Regions from separate parts of the Homo sapiens genome. Here region 2 is linked to region 1. The links are contacts of gene promoters, found by promoter capture Hi-C in human tissues and cell types (Jung and others, 2019). All regions are on one chromosome and are shown on one strand. Each heading gives the region's core, a stretch centred on a gene start or on the middle of the fragment in contact. The rest is flanking DNA. Distances are from core to core; before and after follow the strand shown. Region 1 holds the start of RLF (RLF zinc finger). Region 2 overlaps ZMPSTE24 (zinc metallopeptidase STE24).

Region 1 (5,290 bases), core at 1,384-3,883:
TCAAATATTTTGTTATTCCCAATAGTGCTGCAATGAATATGAGCAACATGACAGTTAAGAGGGTGGATTCTAGAGCCAGACTACCCAGGATTGAATTTCAGGCACCATCACTAGTTGTGTCACTTTGGGCACGTTACTTCTTTGTGCTCTAGTTTATTTAATTGTAAAATGATGGCAATAAATTTTCATGATATTGTTAGTAGAATTAAATGAGTTAATACATATAAAGAACTTCGAAAAGTGCCTGGAACATATTAAATCTCAATGAATATTGACCGTTATTATTATTACCCTTATTATTAGGAATTGCTTAATTACAGGACATGTACATCTTCTATTTCATTAAATATTACACATTATTCTCCTAAGTGATATGTCAATTTATGCTTCCAGCAGGGGTATATAAGTTCCATTTTCCTATTTCCTATACTAATTAAAAATTCCTGTCAATCTAATGGATATGAAATTGTTGTTTTACTTGTACTTTGATAGTTACAGCAAAATTATATATTTTTTCTTGGGTTTATTGGCCATTCAGTTTTCTTTTTTGGTGAACTGCCTTTTTACCTACTTTTCTTTCTCTCTCTCTTTTTTTTTTTTTTTTTAGTGTCCCTCAGGCTAGAATGCAGTGATGCCACCTTGGGTCACTGCACCACAGCTTTGATTTCCAGAGCTCAAGCGATCCTCCCACCTCAGCCTCCTAAGTAGCTGGGACTAGAGGCGCATGCCACCACGCCTGGCTAATTTTGTTTTCATTTTTTGTAGACACAAGATCTCATTATGTTGCCCAGGCTGGTCTCGAACTCCTGAACTCAAGCAATCCTCCGGCCTTGGGCTCCCAAGTACTGAGATTACAGGCATGAGCCAAAACGTCCAGCTTTTTAATTTACTTTTCTATTGGGTTGTTTGCCTTTTTCGATTTTGGGAACTATTTGTTTGTTTGTTTGTTTGTTTTTTGAGACGGAGTCTTGCTCTGTCACCCAGGCTGGAATGCAGTGGCGCGATCTCGGCTCACTGCAACCCCTGCCTCTCAGGTTCACGCCATTCTCCTGCCTCAGCCTCCCGAGTAGCTGGGACTACAGGCGCCCGCCACCACGCCCGGCTAATTTTTTGTATTTTTAGTAGAGACAGGGTTTCACCGTGTTAGCCAGGATAGTCCTGATCTCCTGACCTCGTGATCTGCCCGCCTCGGCCTCCCAAAGTGCTGGGATTACAGGCGTGAGCCACCTCGCCCAGCCCGGGAACTGTTTTGGATACTAATCAAAACAATGGTTATGGCTGGGCGCGGTGGCTCACGCCTGTAATCCCAGCACTTTGGAAGGCCAAGGCGGGCGGATCACTTGAGGCCAGGAGTTCGAGATCAGCCTGGCCAACACAGTGAAACCCCGCCTCTACTAAAAATACAAACATTAGCCAGGCATGGTGGCGGACGCTTATAGTGCCAGCTACTTTGGGAGGCTGAAGCACGAGAATCACTTAAACCTGAGAGGCAGAGGTTGCAGTGAGCCTAGATCGTGCCACTGCACTCCAGGCTGGGTGACAGAGTGAGACCCTGTCTCAAAAAACAACAACAATAAACAATGGTTATATATATGGGGAATATCATTTAGTCTGTGGCTTGTCTTTGTGTGCTTTTTCAACTTGTTATACGGAAGTAACACATTTTAATACAGTCAAATCTAAATATTTTCCCTTATGGTTTGTGCTTTTCCGGTCTTATTAAGAAATTCTTAGCCGGGCGCGGTGGCTCACGCCTCTAATCCCAGCACTTTGGGAGGCTGAGGCGGGCGGATCACCTGAGGTCAGGAGTTCGAGACCAGCCTGACCAACATGGAGAAACCCCATCTCTACTAAAAATACAAAATTAGCCAGGTATGGTGGCGCATGCATGTAATCCCAGCTGCTCCGGAAGCTGAGGCAGGAGAATGTTTGAACCAAGGAGGCGGAGGTTGCGGTGAGCTGAGATAGCACTGTTGCACTCCAGCCTGGGCAACAAGGGTGAGACTCCGTCTAAAAAAAAAAAAAAAAATTCTTCCCTATTTTTGACATTATAAAGCTATTTTTATTTTCTGAAAAATGTTTGCAGGTCTTTAATCCATCTCGGCCTTATTTTTGGAAATGGTTTGAGGTAGAAATCTAATCATTTATTTCCCTTTTGGAAAAAATGTCTCATCGCCATTTATTGAAGAGTCTGTCCTTTCGCCCACTGACTTGTAATGCCGTCTGTATCATAAACCAAGTTCCCTTGATGTTACTCTTCATTTCGGCCTCACAATCTTTGCTTATTTTCCTTCTACCAGGGATGCTTTTCGCTATGTTCCTTTCAGGGCTACCTTCCTCTTGTCCCTTCAGATCGCAGTTCAAATGTCATCCCCCTCAAATCTAGATTGCTCTACAGGCATTTCTGGCTCCGTGATCCCATGACCTCAAAGGGGTCTAGGTGGGCATAGCCTCTAGCCAGTTGTTGCTAGGCTGTTGTCAGGACTGGCGATGCGTAGGCCACTGAGAGCACCCGGAGTCCGAGTGACGGAATCAGGCGGGCGCCCGCGTCGCTAAGGAGTGCGTCACAGTGCGCGGGCGGCCGGGGGCAGGGCCAGGGCTGAGTCACGTGGCTTGGTTGCCTACGCGCTGGTGGGCCGTGGGAAGATGGCGGACGGAAAGGGAGACGCCGCCGCTGTCGCCGGGGCTGGGGCTGAGGCTCCGGCGGTAGCGGGAGCCGGAGATGGAGTCGAGACTGAGTCCATGGTTCGGGGTCATCGCCCCGTATCTCCAGCGCCGGGAGCCTCGGGACTGCGGCCGTGTCTGTGGCAGCTGGAGACAGAGCTGAGGGAGCAAGAGGTGTCGGAGGTCTCATCTTTGAACTACTGCCGGAGCTTCTGCCAGGTGAGGGGCTGACTGGCTGGCTGAGGGCGGCGGGGCGGGGAAGTCAGGGAAGGAGGCCCTGGATCCTCTGTAAGCAGCCGGGTCCAAACTGAAAGGCGCCACCTCCGTGACTCGCCGCGCCCCCGGGCCGGGAAGGCCCAGCTCGGAAGCTCGACCGCTGGCCCCCCTGCGCCACTGCCCGACTTTGGCCACCGCTGGGTCGTTTTGCTCTGAGCCTTACTGAGATCCCGGAGGGCCCTGGCGGGTCCCTGGAAGGGCTGTGCCCTGTCGCCGTTGCCTGTGTCCTGGCCGGGTGGTTGGAGCGCCACTGCCCCCTGAGGGATTGATTGCTTGTCCCTGCCGGGAGATCCTTTTTTGAGTGGAGTGCAGATCTCCGAACTGGTAAACCCGGGTTTTTCTGAATAATCCAGAGAGGTGTGTTGGGGCCAGAGACTTATTTTTGGAGTTAACATCTTCTGGGCTCCTAAAAGGTATGACAGTTGGCTTCGAAAGGCGTCTAGAGCTTTCTGATTAGGGATTGCGGAGCCGGTTGGTTGTTTGGTTTTTGCTTTTTTTTTTTTTACGTTTAAGCCGTTCTTTCGTCTTTTCTGTATTTCTTTGAGAGGATTGTGCTACCGAGAATAAGGCTGACTCTTTGAGTAGAAGAGGATGGGAAGAGGGATGTAGAGTGTGGCCTCTTTTGGCAGTCGTATGATCATTTCTGTGCCTTGGTGGGTCCTAACCTATGATTACATATTTATGGGTGTGTTTAGTTTAGTCTCCATGACCACTCCGAGATTTTTCTGTATGTTTTCAAGTCTTTTACAAATACAAATATTGGCCATTATTATTTCTGCTTCCAATGTTTGTTCTGTCAGGTTTCAGAGGCACCCATCAGCTCCTTATCTGTTGTACCTTAGAAAATGCAAAATAATCGTGGCATGTTGGTACTTGGAGTCTAATAAGTAGTCCAGTATGCTGAATAAATTGCGGCGTTCTAAAATAATAATTTTGGGGGGCAATTTGCTCTGTTGGTCCGGAGTAGAATAAAAGTTAGCTTGCTTGATTGCTTTTCTTCCCTCTCTCTGCCGAGGCAGAAGCACCTCATCTCTCTGAATGGAATTTTGTCCTTACTAATCTTTTCCGTGGATTGTACCACTCCAATTTTTGTGTGTACAACCTGCAACATTGCCCTGTACTATTAAATGTTAACGTGTTGTTGTTCTCTGCTTCCTTAGTAGTAGTCATCCCTGTTTAGTAAGCTCATTTATTTTACAGATTTTTACTGACTTCATAGGATAGTGCCAGGGACTTTACCAAGTGCTGGGGAAACATGAGTAAGACAGCACTTAGCCTTGATGAACTTACAGTTGGTGGGAGGTGGTAGGAATGACAGTATTTCCAGTGCGGTTTTGGTAATGATGGAAAAGGAGGTGTTGTAGAGACAATGGTGAGGAGAGAGCCTTCATGGGATATCCTGATGGGAAAGACAATTAACTAGAAAAATAAGTAAAAAGGTTAATTATAAATTGTAGTATGTGCTTAGAAAGAAGTAACTGGGAGAGGCCACTTTAGTTAGTAAGACCCTATGGGCTGCAAGGATGAAAATGAGTCACGTGAAGGTCTGGGGTGGGGAAAGCATCCCAGTGCCAAAGGTAGAGATTGGTAAGGACCCAGAATGCTATGGGAGGAGGGGAAACTAATGGAAGGAGAGGGGTGGTGCAGGAAAACAACTGTGGGTTTTGGGTAAGGCTTCTAAGCTTGAGTTGTCTCCCTGGAAAGATGACAAGAATGAATGTAACCAGTCACATTGAAGCTTGTCAAAGGATCACATATATATGTATTCTGCTTTATGTCTAGTGCTTGCAACTGCAGTTTTGTTTAAGGTAATGTTTTAATGTCTTGAGTCTTGGTGACACCAGAGATGTGATGGCCCAGAAGAATTTTTAAAAGAAAGCATGTGTAATTTGTCTTTTCTATGAAGTTTTTTTTAACCTAAAATTTTCCCAAAAAATGTTTTTTAGACTAATAAATGAAACAAGAACAAGTATTCCTGTAACACTGTATTGTAATAGAAAGCACATGGGATTGGGAGTTAAGTTGGGTCTTGACTGTGACTTTACCACTGCTTAGCTAATAACCTTGGGTAACCATGTCTGCAAAACTATCTTATTTTCTGACCTTTATCTCCTTATAATGCTTTATACAATCAGAATAGAAAATTTGTGTACAAGTCTTCACAAAATTTATCATATTTTTGACACATTTTCCCCTGTAGTCCAGATAAGATCAACTGTGTCCTTGATGACCAGATAGAGAAAAAGTAAAAATTGTATGAAGAAGCAGGAAAATTTTCACCATCAGTAAATTTTGTTGAATAGCTCTTGGTTTCACATTTGAAAAGAAGAATAAGATATATTCATTTACT
Region 2 (5,290 bases), core at 49-2,548, 120 kb after region 1:
TCGTGTAATCCATCATCTAACCCAATGAGGTAGATATTAGGCTCGCTTCATAAATAGGAAACTAAAGCTTAAAGAAATTAAGAAAGTTTTCTAAATTGACAGAACTAATACATGGCAGAGCCAAGATTTGAACCCAAAGTCTGTGCTCTTAATCACTATACTCAACTCACTGCACATTGTAGGACATTTAGAAATCAAAGAAGTGCATAAAGAAGAAAATAAAAATCAACCATAGTTCAGGTACTGTTAGCTGCTATTAAAAATTTAGGTATGGGCCAGCTGTGGTGATTCACACCTGTAATCCCAGCACTTTGGGATGCCAAGGCAGGAGAATTGCTTGAGCCCAGGAGTTAGAGACCAGCCTGGGCAACATAGCAAGACCCTGTCTCTACAAAAAATTAGCCGGGCATGGTGGTATGTGTCTGTAGTCCTAGCTACTCAGGAGGATGAGTCAGGAGGATTGATTGAGCTCAGGAGGTCAAGGCTGCAGTGAGCCATGATTATGCCATTGCATTGCAGCCTAGACGACAGAGAGACCCTGTCTCAAAAGAAAAAAAGGTATGTCTTCTTCCAGTCTTTATAAAAATTGCTTTAATTATAGAAGTAGGTATGCTGATTTTAAAAGTCTTTGGGAAAAGAAAGGAAACAAAAATCTATAATTTTAGAATTTAGTGATAAACATTTCAGTATTTTGGTATGTTTCCTAATAGGCATGGGCTTATGCTTTTCTGTTAATATTTGTTAGGTTGGTGCAAAAGTAATTGCAGTTTCAGACCATGAATTTTGAATCCTTATAACTAGGCTCAAACACATCTTTATTAATCAAAAGAAGAACCATTACAATCAACACATTTTTGCCAACAAGAAATACGTTTGCTTATTTCTGTAGGGTAAAACTCTGTGCTTCGGGATTTGGCAAACTCTTGGAAAGCATTTTCTGCATCCAGCTAGTTGTGAAAACGTTTTCTCTTTAAAAAGTTGTTGAGATGCTTGAATAAGTGGTAGTCAGTTGGCAAGAGGTCAGGTGAATGTGGCAGATCAGGCAAAACTTCATAGCCCAATTTGTTCAACTTTTGAAGGATTGATTTTGCGATGTTCGGTTGGGTGTTGTCTTGGAGAAGAATTGGGCCCTTTCTGTTGCCCAGTGCTGGTTGCAGGCGTTGCAATTTTCTGTGCATCTCATCGATTTGCTGTGCATACTTCTCAGATGTAATGGTTTTGCCAGGATTCAGAAAGCTATAGTGGATCAGACTGGCAGCAGACCACCAAACAGTGACCATGACCTTTTTTTGGTGCAAGTTTGGCTTTGGGAAGTGCTTTGGAGCTTCTTCTGTGTCCACCCACTGAGCTGGTCATCGCCCGTTGTTCTATAAAATCCATGTTTCGTCTCACGTCACAGTCTGATAGAGAAATGGTTTGTTGTGTAAAATAAGAGAAGACGACACTTCAAAACAATGATTTTTTTTAATTTTTATTTTCGCTTAGCTCATGAAGCACCCACTTATCAGGCTTTTTCACCTTTCCAGTTTGCTTCAAATGCCAAACGACCGTAGAATGGTCGACATTGAGTTCTTCGGCAACTTCTTGTGTAGTTGTAAGGGGATCAGCTCCGATGATTGCTCTCCATTGGTCATTGTCAACTTCCGATGGCCTGCCACTACGCTCCTCATCTTCAAGGCTCTCATCTCCTTTGCAAACTTCTTGAACCACCACTGCGCTGTACGTTCGTTAGCAGTTCCTGGGCCAAATGCGTTGTTGATGTTGCGAGTTGTCTCTGCTGCTTTACGACCCATTTTGAACTCAAAGAAGAAAATTGCTTGAATTTGCTTTTTTTTTTTTCTTTCTTTGTGAGACAGAGTCTCCGTCTGTTGCCTAGGCTGGAGTGCAGTGGCGACATCTCTGCTCACTGCAACCTCCGTCTCCTGGGTTCAAGCAGTTCTCATGCCTCAGCCCCACGTGTAGCTGGGATGACAGGTGTGCGCCACCATGCCCGGCTAATTTTTTGTATTTTTGGTAGAGACAGGGTTTCACCATGTTGGCCAGGCTGGTCACGAACTCCTGACTTCAAGTGATCCGCCTGCCTCAGCCTCCCAAAGTGCTGGGATTACAGGCATGAGCCACTGCACCCAGTTGAATTTGCTTTTTGTCTAATATAATTTCCCTTATCTAAAATAAATATAAAATAAACAGCAAGTAATGTCATTAGCAAAAAACATAAAGTGAGAAATGTGCATTAAAATGATGTATAACATAACCATATTTATTTAAGAATGTATTCCAATATCAAACAGCAAATTTCAACAATGCAAAAACCGCAATTACTTTTGCACCAACCTAATACATGCACATTTTTTCTTGACGATAATGGAACCTGATATACGTGAAGTTTTGTATCCTTCACAATATATTGGTGAGCTTTTTCTTGTTAAAATTCTTTGGAAGTATAATTTTTTTCTGGCAGCTTAAAATTCCATTTCATAGTTTTACTATAATTGAATCATTTGTAACTGTTGGATGTTTAGGCTTTACTTATTTACTTACTGCTATAAAGCTGTGATGAGCACATTTATTGGCAAAAAACAGACACTCTCCACTGCTGGTGGTGAATTATGTTGATATGATTTTTCTTCACATATTAAATGATTTGAAAATGTTAATGTCCTTTCCAGTAATTCAATTTCTAGGAGTCTCTCCAAAGGACCCCAAACTTTTTAATTATATTCCATGCTTTGAACTGTCTTTTCCTTAGGATCTAAACGCTCTTCCCACAGCAATGCTTATTTTTATGGCTTCTTCAAGAACAAGCGAATAGTTTTGTTTGACACTCTACTAGAAGAGTACTCTGTACTAAACAAAGACATCCAGGAGGATTCTGGCATGGAACCCCGCAATGAGGAAGAAGGGAACAGTGAAGAAATAAAAGCTAAAGTTAAAGTGAGTTATTTTTTCCTAAGAGATTCTACCTTAGTTTTTATACACAGTTCCTGTGACAACTCAAAATAACATCAATTTCTAGGCAGTGAGTGTTGAATTCAGGGAGACTATCAGATGAAAACCATGGCTCCTTTATAGTTCTGGTATTTAGGAGAGATCACCACTATTATTACATGCTAACTACCTTGCAAGCTTTTATAGAATGTGGATATTAAAATTGGAAGCTCTTATAAGAAAATTCATATGATTATAAGCTATCTTTAAAACAGGAACTTGTGTGTATATATATATATGTGTGTGTATATATATATATAATTTCTTATGTGTTTATGATCAAAGAATTCCCACAAGCAAGATAAAGAGAAGATAAACATCTAATTTTTAGCTTTATTAAGACAGTAATTGTAGGCTTTGGCAATGGAGAGACTTGGATTTGAATCCTGGTTCTGTCATTTAGTAGCTTTGTATCCTTGGATACGTTGTGTAATTTAGTCTGTTTTATTTGTTTAACACCCATTTATGAAATGTATACTCTGTGCTGAGAGACTTTACTTGGCACTAGGTACACAAAAATAAAAAGGAATACCTTCCTCTTAAGCTTACAGTCTAAAGGGGAAATAGTCATGCAATCACAGTACAATACGTGAATTGCTACTGTCAAGCTTTAGATTCTAGATATAGTAACTGGAGCACAAGAAAAGACATTTCTCAAATCTGACATGAGAGTCTGAGAAAGCTGCTTCTGAATCCTTTTCGTGGATAAGATTGACTGATATTGATTAGCAGAATTTAAAGTATCAAGACTAAATGGGGGAGAGGGGACAATGATAAGAAACAATACAAACTGTCAGAAATGATCATCAGTATTTGTATGTGTGATGGAATGTGCCATTGCCTTTGGTGTCATACAGAGATGATTTTAGATGCCTGTTCACTCACTGTCTGTGTAACTCTGTGCAAGTAAGTTAAGCTTTCATTTATTTATGTATTTATTTATTTTGAGATGAGGTCTTGTTATGTTTTCCAGGCTGGTCGAACTGCTGGCCTCAAGTTACCCGCCTGCCTTGGCCTCCCAAAGTGCTGGGATTATAGGCGTGTGCCACCGCACCCCGCCAAGCTTTCTAAATCTTTGATTTCTTAACTGAAAGATGAGGCCAGTAGGGTTTCTCAAGCCCCACGCTATTTTTTTGAGCCAGATAATTTTTTTGTTGTGGGAGGTATCTTGTGCATCACAGGATGTTTAGCAGCATCCCTGGTCTCTCCCCACTAGGGGCCATTTCCCCTACAACCTCTACAAATTGTAACAACAAAAATGTCTCAGAATATTGCCAGATGTCCCCTAAAGGTAGCGGTGGGGCCGAGTCTCCCCTGGTTGAGAAATACTAGGCTAAAGATACCTACATTTTAGGGTTTTGAAGATTAAATGAAATAATATGTGTGAAATACCTTGTACTCTCTACCCAAATGTAGAGAGTACCAGAAAATGATTAGCATCTGAGCATCTGTTTTGACACTAAAAACAGGTTCTAGTAAAGTACCTAGCCTGTTATAAATACGTAGATGAAATAAAATTCTGTGAAGGGATTAGAAGACATCTTAAAGTCATCTTATAAATAGGAAAACTGAAGTCCAGAAAGAATAACCCAGTGATAACACTAGAGAATCATGCAAGTTTAGAAAGTTAATCTGCTTATGGTCAGGCACTGTGGCCCATACCTGTAATCCCAGCACTTTGGAAGGCCAAGACAGGCAGATAACTTGAGGCCAGGAGTTCGAGACCAGCCTGGCCAACATGACGAAACCCCTGTCTCTACAAAAAAATACAAAAATTAGTTGGGCATGATAGCGCACGCCTGTAATCCCAGTACTCAGGAGGCTGAGGCACAAGAGTTGCTTGAACCTGGGAGGTGGAGGTTACAGTGAACTGAGATCCTGCCTCTGCACTCCAGCCTGGGTGACAAAGTGAGACCCTGTCTTAAAAAAAAAAAAAAATTGCTGATCCTTTTGTTACTTTTTTTGTTTTTGTTTTTGTTTGCTTTTCTGGAAGTTTGTTAGATCTTTCTCTGTTTCAGTGTTCTAAAATTTCACATACCTTGATGGGGATCTGTTTTCATCTACCATGTTATATGCATCACACTGTTTTCATCCACTGTAATATATGCATTAGGCCCTTTTATTCTGGAAATCGAGGTCCTATGGTTGTAAGAAATTTTCTGAAATTATTTTGTTGATTTTTCTCCTCTCCATTTTTTAAATTCTGTGTTTTCAGGGCTCCTCTTACTCGAGTGCTGGATTTGTTATACTGAACTCTCCTATCTTTTTAACCCTCTTTTCCATTTTAAATATATCTCTTTCT

Evidence for each region. The method cuts DNA at HindIII sites, captures the fragments that hold promoters and counts their contacts. A contact is called where the count stands out against the background at its distance.
Region 2: a contact is called between a fragment that was not itself captured here and the fragment with the promoter of RLF in region 1, in 2 of the 25 tissues and cell types used here (adrenal gland and aorta).

Annotation. Positions count from the first base shown.
Region 1 is chr1:40,158,754-40,164,043 of GRCh38, forward strand. It overlaps RLF (RLF zinc finger), which reads left to right and starts at 2,634. Exons shown (of 8, transcript NM_012421.4): 1 at 2,634-2,883. The coding sequence starts at 2,647. LOC105378671 (a long non-coding RNA gene) reads right to left here and starts at 2,525. Exons shown (of 3, transcript XR_947232.3): 1 at 2,212-2,525. RefSeq lists a silencer at 1,096-1,297 and enhancers at 2,306-2,922, 2,410-2,919, 2,923-3,538. The HindIII fragment of the contact is 7,287 bases long and covers 1-5,154 here.
Region 2 is chr1:40,278,594-40,283,883 of GRCh38, forward strand. ZMPSTE24 (zinc metallopeptidase STE24) reads left to right here. Exons shown (of 10, transcript NM_005857.5): 7 at 2,750-2,934. Among named protein-coding and RNA genes, the nearest start is that of ZMPSTE24, 23 kb to the left of the region's middle. The HindIII fragment of the contact is 4,061 bases long and covers 1-3,329 here.